Linked DNA regions of Homo sapiens: regions 1 and 2 are each linked to region 3. Evidence: promoter capture Hi-C in 16 types of primary human blood cells and fetal thymus (Javierre and others, 2016). All regions are on one chromosome and are shown on one strand. Each heading gives the region's core, a stretch centred on a gene start or on the middle of the fragment in contact. The rest is flanking DNA. Distances are from core to core; before and after follow the strand shown. Region 1 holds the start of ATXN1 (ataxin 1). Region 2 overlaps DCDC2 (doublecortin domain containing 2). Region 3 holds the start of E2F3 (E2F transcription factor 3).

Region 1 (3,172 bases), core at 673-3,172, 3.6 Mb before region 3:
TTTTTTTTTTTTTTTTTTTTTGCCCTTACTACTCTTCAGCAATTTCCCTCTTCTCAAATATTTATATTACCCTTTTATCTGTAGGATTATATACCAAGAAAGCAAAACAAAACAGAGCAGCCACGGGCTCGAACCGAATCCCCGCCGTCCTTAGAAACGGATTTTTTTTTGTTTTGTTTTGTTTTCTGGCAGAGTCTCGATCACCACCCTACTTCCACCCCCACTAAGGTTCTTGCTCAATCTCCCTAGAAAACCTGAATTGTTTCATCCCTTTCAGTCAGCCCCCTACGTGGTCTGAAACAAAATGAAAGCACAAGCCACGGAGTTTAAGAAGGCAGCCTGAAGGCGGGGGGCTGAAGAGGGGTCGGGGCGCTGCAGAGTCAGCCAAGTAGCCAAGGAAGGGCCCCCTCCGCGTCGCGACGGCCCTCGCCCCCCGCCCGGCGCGCGCGCGCACAAATACACACACACAGTCACTCACACACTCACTCACACTCACGCCGCGCTCCGACACCGCCTCACCTCTCGCTCCGCCCGTCCGGCCCCCTTCCCTGCCCCCTGCGGGACCGGCCTGCGCGCAGCACTGGAACCACGTAGGAGGAGGCGGCGGCGCCCCCGGGAGTGGCAGAGTCTCCGGCCCGGCCCAGAGTGAACGAGCAGTGGGGCTCCAGGGCGCATCCCAATCCCCGCAGCGCCTCCTCCGCGGCGGCCGCCGCCTCCTCCTCCTTCCCCTCCTCCTGGCTTCATTCACCCTCCCAGCAGCCGCGCAGCCGTTCACTCCCGGCTCAGGGCAGCGCCTGCCGCGGCTCCTCGTCTCCTGCCGCGGGTGCTGGCGGGGGCGCCGGCCCGGACTGGGGCGCTCGCGGGCTCCCGGCTCCGGGCGGCGGCTGCCGCTGCACATGATCAGGAAGCGGCCGCACCAACAGGGCGGCGGTGGCGGCGGCGGCCAGGGCCGTCACCGCCACTCCAGCCGCGCTCCAGGCACCCGCACACCCGCTACCCCCGCGCGGTCCCCGAGGCCACCCCTCTGCGCCCCCCGCCCGGCACCCGGCCGCGCGCAAAGTCCCGTCCCGGCTGCAGGAGCAGTCCCTTCCCCGCCCGCAGCCGCACACCCGGCGAGGCCGGCCCTCCGAGGGGAGACCCCCGCCCCAGGGCGCCGAGGCCGGGCGACCACCCGCGGAGAAGTCCAGCCCTCCGTGAGACCCCCTCTCTCTCACCGCCCTCTCCGGGGAGGAGGAATGGGAAGAGGGCGGCCGGGAAAGGGACCACCCCCCAACCCCAGCCGCCGCCTCCCCCCTGCGCCACCCGGAGGGAGGAGGACATGGCTCTCCGCACTTGCGACCGGACCAGCAGCCGGGGGAGCGGGGCGCCGCCGCCGCTCTCCCCGCCCGCGCCCCCCGCCCGGGCGCGCCCCCTAGCCCGGCGGGCGCCCACCCAGCCCCTGACAGCCCCCCCGCCGGCCGCCCCTGCGCCCAGAGTGGGGGTGTCGGCCCGGGAGCCTGGAGCCGGGGACGGTTGTATGTACACACATACACACACACACACACACACACGCACACACACAGAACACGACGCGTCGATTTCCTTCGCTCCTCTTCCAGCTGTTTTCCGTGCAGCCGATTGGGGTTTTGGGTTTGTTTGCTGGTTGTTGCTTTTGCCCCTCTCGGGAGATCGGGGGAGGAGGGATTTTAATCTAAATAAGGGGAGAAGGGAATGGGGGAGGGGGGAAAGAATCGGAGGAGGAAAAAAAAATAGTCACTTACTGTAAAGTGTAAATGGATCTGGGGTTGCGTGGGGAAGGGGGGGCAGAGGGAGAGAAACAATGTCTTGCGGCTGCTGTTGCTCTGGCTGCTGCTCCACGGGGCTTGTTTTGGATCCCCCTGCAGTGAAACAGGTCCTGTACGGCTCCGCCACTGTAGTAGAAATGATGTCTGCGGTATACTCTGCTCTCTCCTCCTCCTCCTCCTCCTCCTCCTCCCCCTCCTCCCGCTCCCCTCCCCTCCCTCCTCCCTCCGCCCGCCCGCCCTCCCTCCCTCCCTCGCGCTCTCTCGCGCTCGCTCGCTCGCTCGCTCCAGTATGTAAATGTGTAATAGAAGCCAAATATGGAGCAGTTGGCTGCCGCCGCCGCAGCTCAAGGATCCGACTTCATGGGGGTGGGGGGCACCCTCTGGCGGGCGGCCCGGCGAGCCGCACAGAGCACGGCGAGCGCACCGCGCGGCGGCCGGCCCGCGCCCTTAACCCTTCGCTGCGCGCCGCCCGGGGAGGCGGGCACCTTTCCCAAAGAGTGGCTCGGGATGGGGTGCGGGGGAGGGGAGACGCGGACCGGAGGGCAAGGTTCCTTCCAGGTTTGGGAAGGGGGCGGGGAGCTGGGCGATGAGGTAATTTGAGCGGTGACGGGTCGGTCCTCGCGCGCCTCCCTGGGTCCCTGCACCTAGTTGGAGGGGACTGAACGACAACGGGGCGCTACTCAGGCAACCTGGGGGACTCCCCCAAGGGCTGTCAGGCTTCAGCTGGGAGCCGATGCAACACCCCAGCGGGGAGGGGAGGTCGGCCCATTCTAATCCCGACGTGTCCTTGGTCCCAGGCGCTCGGAGCAGCATCTGAGAGGGCTCACTCTGATCATCAGCTGCACGTTAAGCCACAAACCGGCGTCGCTTCGGCGTTCCGGAACCCAGGCCTGGGGGCCGCGGGGATTGCCTCTGCGTGCAACTCCGGAAAGTTTCAAGGGGTCCCCCGACTGCACAGGTACCCTCACCTTTCCTGCCGGCGAACGCTGGCGACCGCCCGACCCTGCCCTCTTTCTCTCTTCGCACGCAGGTCCGGAAATCGGCTTTGATATGGAACTACTCCGCTCTAGCCTGGAAAGGAGACCCGCGCACTCCTCTCGCAGCTAATTTCGGATCATTAATTTAATCGGAAATGAGGTAACCAGTGTAGGAGACAGAGAAAGCAACCGGAGCATCAAATGGCAGTTCTCGAGAATCGACGAGGAACTTAAATCTGGACTCAGGGTTTCAGTGCGGTCTCCGACTCCCACCACCCCGCCCCTCCGCCTGTCTCGCCGCCAGGTGTGACCTCCACGCGAAGGAATCTTCTTCGGATGGGTGCACCTTGCCAACAGGTGTGGCACCTGGAGGACTAGGAGGCGCCTCCAGACTAAGGGCGCTCAGTGCGG
Region 2 (2,833 bases), core at 56-2,555, 3.8 Mb after region 3:
AATCATGAGTGAACTCCCATTCACAATTGCTACAAAGAGAATAAAATACCTAGGAATACAACTTACAAGAGATGTGAAGGCCCTCTTCAAGGGGAAGGACAAACCACTGCCCAAGCAAATAAGAGAGGACACAAACAAATGGAAAAACATTCCATTCTTGTGGATAGGAAGAATTGATATTGTGAAAATGGCCATACTGCCCAAAGTAAGGTATAGATTCAATGCTATCCCCATCAAGCTACCATTGACTTTCTTCACAAAATTGGAAAAAACTACTTTAAAGTTCATATGGGACCAAAAAAGAGCCCATATAGCCAAGACAATTCTAAGCAAAAGGAACAAAGCTGGAGGCATCATGCTACCTGACTTCAAACTATACTACAAGGCTACAGTAACCAAAACAGCATGATGCTGGTACCAAAACAGATATATAGACCAACTGAGCAGCACAGAGTTCTCAGAAATAACATCGCACATCTACAACCATCTGATCTTTGACAAACCTGACAAAAACAAGCAATGGGGAAAGGATTCCCTATGTAATAAATGGCGTTGGGAAAACTGGCTAGCCACATGCAGAAAACTGGAACTGGACCCCTTTCTTACATCTTATAGAAAAATTAACTTAAGATGGATTAAAGACTTAAATGTAAGACCTAAAACCATAAAAACCCTAGAAGAAAACCTAGGCAATACCATTCAGGACATAGGCATGGGAAAAGACTTCATATGAATAAAACACCAAAAGCAATGGCAACAAAAGCCGAAATTGACAAATGGGATCTAATTAAACTGAAGAGCTTCTGCACAGCAAAAGAAACTATCATCAGAGTGAACAGGCAACCTACAGAATGGGAGAAGATTTTTGCAATCTATTCATCTGACAGGGCTAATATTCAGAATCTACAAGGAACTTAAAAAAATTTACAAGAAAAAAAACAAACAAACCCATCAAAAAGTGGGCAAAGGATATGAGCAGACACTTCTCAAAAGAAGACACTTATGCAGCCAACAAACATAAGAAAAAACGCTCATCATCACTGGTCATTAGAAAAATGTAAATCAAAACTACAATGCGATACCATCTCATGCCACTTAGAATGGCAATCATTAATAAGTCAGGAGGCAACAGATGCTGGAGAGGATGTGGAGAAATAGCAACACTTTTACACTGTTGGTGGGAGTGTAAATTAGTTCAACATTGTGGAAGACAATGTGGCGATACCTCAAGGATCTAGAGCCAGAAATACCCTTTGACCCAGCAATCTCATTACTGGGTATATACCTGAAGGATAGTAAACCAATCTACTATAAAGACACATGCACACTTATGTGTACTGCAGCGCTATTCACAATAGCAAAGACTTGGAACCAACCCAAATGCCCATCAATGATAGACTGGATAAAGAAAATATGGAACATATACACCACGGAATACTATGCAGCCATAAAAAAGGATGTGTTCGTGTCTTTTGCAGGGACATGAATGAAGCTGGAAACCATCATTCTCAGCAAACTAACACAGGAACAGAAAACCAAACACTACACATTCTCACTCATAAGTGGGAGCTGAACAATGAAAACACATGGACACAGAGAGGTGAACATCATACACTGGGGCCTGTCAGGGTTTGGGGAGCTAGGGGAGGGACAGCATTAGGAGAAATGCCTAATGTAAATGATGGGTTGATGAGTGCAGCAAACCACCATGGCACCTCTGTAACAAACCTGCACGTTCTGCACATGTATGCCAGAACTTAAAGTATAATTTTTTAAAAATGCTTTTCTAAGTGGGTAAGTACTTTTATTCCAGATGAAAATCCCAAACCAATACTCTTTTTTATATCAAACTTTATCACTTTATCTCATACCTAATCCCATCCCATCTTGCTCTTCAATGCTCTTTATTAAGGAAATACCATTTGCTGTTATTTAAAAAGACTTGGTCTAAATGGCTATTCTTCACAGGAATACTAGGAGAAAGAATGGTGTTTTGTTATGTTTTTAAGGTTGATCAGCCACATAGTACCTTAGAGGGTTTAATTCATACAGGTATAGGAACAATTTGTAGGAGATAACACAAAACTTGGAAAAAAAACACTATAATTGTCTTACACATATTTTTTAAGGCATGGAGATTACCTGATCGACTGGAACCTCAACCTGAGTATCTTCATCTTCTTGGACTTCTGCTGCCCCCCGTGTTTCAGACCTCTCTGCTCCAGCTTTGAAAATGCCTTCATCTATTGAGACAAACACACAGTGAAAATCAAAATCCAATTGTGACATCGTGTGGCTGAATGCTGGAATTACAATCAAATGCTTATTTTTAATAGACATTTGGATTCCCTTTTTAGTTGATAGTATTTTTGTGCACCCCCTCCTCCGACCACCACACCACCCCCAGTTGTTCCACATTTTCATTGAGAAAACATTCAGTGGTCAAAACAAGGCTGACCCAGCAGGGTAAAGTTCTGTCGAAGCTCCTGTTCACCCTTTGGCTACTGATTTACTAACATAGCCCTTTGTACAGGCATTGAGATGAGAAGAAATTCACAAGTATCATCCCAGTTCTCCCCTCCTATTCACAAAACAGTGAAAATGCTTGCTGCTTTAAAATACTACTTTTAGAAATTTACCTTTCCCAAGAGAATGCTATGCATTCAATATAACGTATTGGAATAATTCTCTCTATTCAGAGTATTATAAAAAATGTTTTTACTGCAGCCAAATCATAGAGTTGACTTTCCATATCTCACCAAAAAATCAGTATCATTTATTCTGCAGATCTCCACAAGATTTTCACAACCTATGACTTTAAATCCTTAACTAT
Region 3 (3,247 bases), core at 71-2,570:
TGTTGCAATCCTCATCACCTATGAGCACCAATTCTGCAGCTGTTTTGCACGTAACTATAAATTATGATCTAGTCTCTACATACATAACTTCCCCCACATTCCTGCAGGGGTCTCTTTTCCTGCTCAATCTCAGGAGCAAGCTTTAATTTTAAGACCCATGAATACTTGAACAAATTCAGGAGTCAGTTTGACACATCATTTTATATTTTTCTGATGACAATTTCTAGTTTACTTTTTAAAAAAAGACACTATTTTAAAAATACTTTGGGATAGGTTTGAGTCGTTGTGTTTGCTTCCAGTCAGAGAACTTCCTACAAAACTGAAGATATAAAGTGCTGATGCCTGGGCGTGCCTGCGTTCGTTGGGGGCACGACGTCATCGTGGGAAGCGTGTACTTTTTCGGATTACTGCTTGGCGGATTAGAAACCCGTAGATCAGTTCTAGGTTAGCCCTGATTAACTGCCCTGGGTGTTTCTGGGCCAGAGGGAATGTCTGCTGGATTCAAACCAATATCCGTTGTAAGACAAAAGAGTTAATTTGTACTTTACCCCTATCCAGGCTAATAATGAAGGTACCGGGAATGATCTGGAATGTTAACTGGTGCCCGCAATCGCGTCTGCTGAACCTTCTGCCCCCACGATTCTGTCTGCCCACATGCTTCTGTCTATCAGCCCCGGCCTCGGGATCAGCTCTCGCCGCGTCATTGGTTGGATTTCAGGAAGGGAGAAGCCCACGATTTAAAGGGCTCCTTTTGCACCTGCCAGACATCGTCCGCATGGTCCAACTTGCCTTTGGCACGTATCTGGAAAAATCTCCTGCGCTGTTCGTTTATTGCACTGACTGGTCAAAGGAAAGAGTGTTCCCTTAGTCACCTTGACAATTTCCAAAAGCGAAACTTGGGCTCTAGACTAGATCTACACTGAGTCTGCGGGGCGCGGAGTCCCTGCCCAGGTCAGTAGCGCCGGCCCGGCGGGCGGGCGGGGACAGGGGCGGAGCCTAGGCCAGGCGTGGTCTTCCGTGGGAGAGAAGGAAATTCTTTGCCCCACCCCCTAAAAACTGCTCTTCTGCCAGCCAATCAAGGAGGCCTATGCAAATAGGGTCCCTGTCGCCCCGGTAACCATGATGCACGGCAGCCAATGGAAACCAGCAAGTCGCGGCCCTGCTCCATGATTGGGACTGAAGTAAGGAGGTAGCGGCCCAATGGGCTGTGGGAACGGTCCTCGGCGGGTTGAGGGGCGGGGATATGCAAATATGGTTTGAAAAGCCGGCGGGAAATCCGAGTTTCGCGGGAGGACCTTGGCGCGTAAACCGTATCCCTTCATTCATTGTCAGCAGCAGCTTCCTGGAGCCATTTTTCAGCTGCCGGCCGCAGCACCCGGGCTGCCGCCGCCGCCTCGCAATCCGTTGCATCGGCCGCCCCCGACGCCTCCATCCCCGCTTGGGGCCCGATATCCGTGCGGCCGGGACCCTCCTCTCTCCAGAGCCCCGATTATTTTTGGCCCCCGGGGCCTGTGCGGTGCGGAAAAATAAAAAGAAAAGAGAGAGAGGGGGCTCGGAAGCGCCGGGCGGGGAGGAGAGAAGGAGGAGAGACTTGGAAACTCCGACTGCAAATAATAAAGAAATTGAAAACAATACATTAATATACCATAACACTAAAAAGAGCAGGAGCGAGAGATGAGAAAGGGAATCCAGCCCGCTCTGGAGCAGTACCTGGTGACCGCCGGGGGTGGGGAGGGGGCGGCTGTCGTCGCCGCCGCCGCTGCAGCCTCCATGGACAAAAGGGCACTGCTAGCCAGCCCCGGCTTCGCCGCCGCCGCCGCCGCTGCCGCCGCCCCGGGCGCGTACATCCAGATCCTCACCACGAACACTTCCACCACCTCCTGTTCCTCCTCCCTCCAAAGCGGCGCCGTAGCCGCCGGCCCCCTCCTCCCCAGTGCCCCCGGCGCGGAGCAGACCGCCGGCAGCCTCCTCTACACCACGCCGCACGGACCCTCCAGCAGAGCCGGGCTGCTGCAGCAGCCACCAGCGCTGGGACGCGGCGGCAGCGGCGGCGGCGGCGGCCCTCCGGTAATACCCTCCCTCCCCACCGTCCCCAGCCCCGGCGGGAGGTGGGCTCGCACCGCGCGGGGTCGTGGGCGCGCTGCGGGCCGCTCGGGGAGAGCACTGGGCCGAGCATCGTGGGCCTCGGGGGCTGCCCCTCCAACGAGGGTTCATTGTTAGACCTGAGTGCTCTTCCCGGCGCCAGGAGGGTCGGGGGGCTCGGCCAGGCGCGCGGGGCGGCGGGGATTGCCTTGGCGCGAACCACATCAAACACTCCAAAACTTTTCGCGGCCCCCCCTTCTTTTCCTGCACTTTTCCCTACCCCCACTCTCCCTTCCCCTCCAACTCGAAGCTTCCTCTTTCTCGGGCGTAGGAAGGGGTCACGCCCCGGATGGAGAAGGGGGTGGGGGAGGGAGTAGTGAACTGGGGTGTGGGGGGCTCTGAGGGGTTGAAACCGGGGGACTGTTGGGGTGCTAGCCCCCAGTCGGCCTTGGAGGCTCGTTGGCGGCCGGGGGTCCCTGCGGCGTGCTCGGAGCGCAGGGGATCGGCGGGGCTGCGCTTGACACATTTTAGGATCTGTAACTCCCGGCAACAAAGGGGCTGGGGGAGGTGGAGGGGAGTCGGGCGTGGGGGAGGTGGGGCTGGAAGCCGGGTGCGGACTGGGGCGTGGGCTGTCTGGGGTGAGGGGCTCGCGGGCTGGCGCTCTGGCCTGGGCGCATCCTGGCAGTGGCAGCGGCGGCGCCCGCGTGGCCCAAGCGCCCAGGCCTTCCTCGCCGGGCCCCGGGCCTGCCCTTGACCCGCCTCTCCCCTTGCCCCTTCCTTCCCCGCCCTGTCCCCCTCTCCGCCCCCCGGCGACGGAGGGCGGGGGCAGCTGGGTTCCCGTCCCGCCGCCTGGGTCTGTCCCTCTCTCCGGGACCCGCCGGTGACGTTTCGCACACGTGCGCGCAGGACGCGCCTGTGACTGGGGAGGAGGCGGCGGCGGGAGGGGGCGCTGGAGGGGGAGAGGGGGGCACCCACTTCCTCCTGCTCGCCGGCTCCCTGGCCTGGGACGGTCCCGGCGCCCTCGCACCCGCCCCCGGCACCGCCACCCTCCCTCTCCTCTCCCCACCCCCCCACCGGCGCCCGCCCTCGCCCTGCGCCGCCGGTCTGTTCGGCCCTCCGGGCCCCCTCTCCAGCCGGCCCCCCACCTCCCCCCGGAGCCAGGCTG

Evidence for each region. The method cuts DNA at HindIII sites, captures the fragments that hold promoters and counts their contacts. A CHiCAGO score of 5 or more calls a contact.
Region 1: the fragment with the promoter of ATXN1 here is called in contact with the fragment with the promoter of E2F3 in region 3 in 8 of 17 cell types (naive CD8 T cells, total B cells, total CD4 T cells and 5 more); the score reaches 13.3 in naive CD8 T cells.
Region 2: a fragment that was not itself captured here is called in contact with the fragment with the promoter of E2F3 in region 3 in 2 of 17 cell types (fetal thymus and endothelial precursors); the score reaches 8.1 in fetal thymus.

The regions. Positions count from the first base shown.
Region 1 is chr6:16,759,538-16,762,709 of GRCh38, forward strand. It overlaps ATXN1 (ataxin 1), which reads right to left and starts at 1,923. Exons shown (of 8, transcript NM_001128164.2): 1 at 1,761-1,923. ATXN1-AS1 (ATXN1 antisense RNA 1) reads left to right here and starts at 1,601. Exons shown (of 3, transcript NR_136240.1): 1 at 1,601-1,629; 2 at 2,582-2,742; 3 at 2,815-3,172. RefSeq lists silencers at 331-690, 701-1,180, 1,251-1,380, 1,857-2,016, 2,024-2,239 and 1 more and an enhancer at 2,377-3,172. The HindIII fragment of the contact is 4,299 bases long and covers 1-3,172 here.
Region 2 is chr6:24,202,860-24,205,692 of GRCh38, forward strand. DCDC2 (doublecortin domain containing 2) reads right to left here. Exons shown (of 10, transcript NM_016356.5): 8 at 2,143-2,243. Among named protein-coding and RNA genes, the nearest start is that of NRSN1, 78 kb to the left of the region's middle. The HindIII fragment of the contact is 3,786 bases long and covers 1-2,833 here.
Region 3 is chr6:20,400,559-20,403,805 of GRCh38, forward strand. E2F3 (E2F transcription factor 3) reads left to right here and starts at 1,321. Exons shown (of 7, transcript NM_001949.5): 1 at 1,321-2,067. The coding sequence starts at 1,675. LOC124901482 reads right to left here and starts at 2,214. Exons shown (of 3, transcript XM_047419652.1): 1 at 1,867-2,214; 2 at 1,711-1,822; 3 at 183-1,604. The coding sequence starts at 2,214. The coding sequence ends at 997. RefSeq lists silencers at 896-1,135, 1,986-2,455, 2,656-3,247 and an enhancer at 1,234-1,758. The HindIII fragment of the contact is 2,252 bases long and covers 139-2,390 here.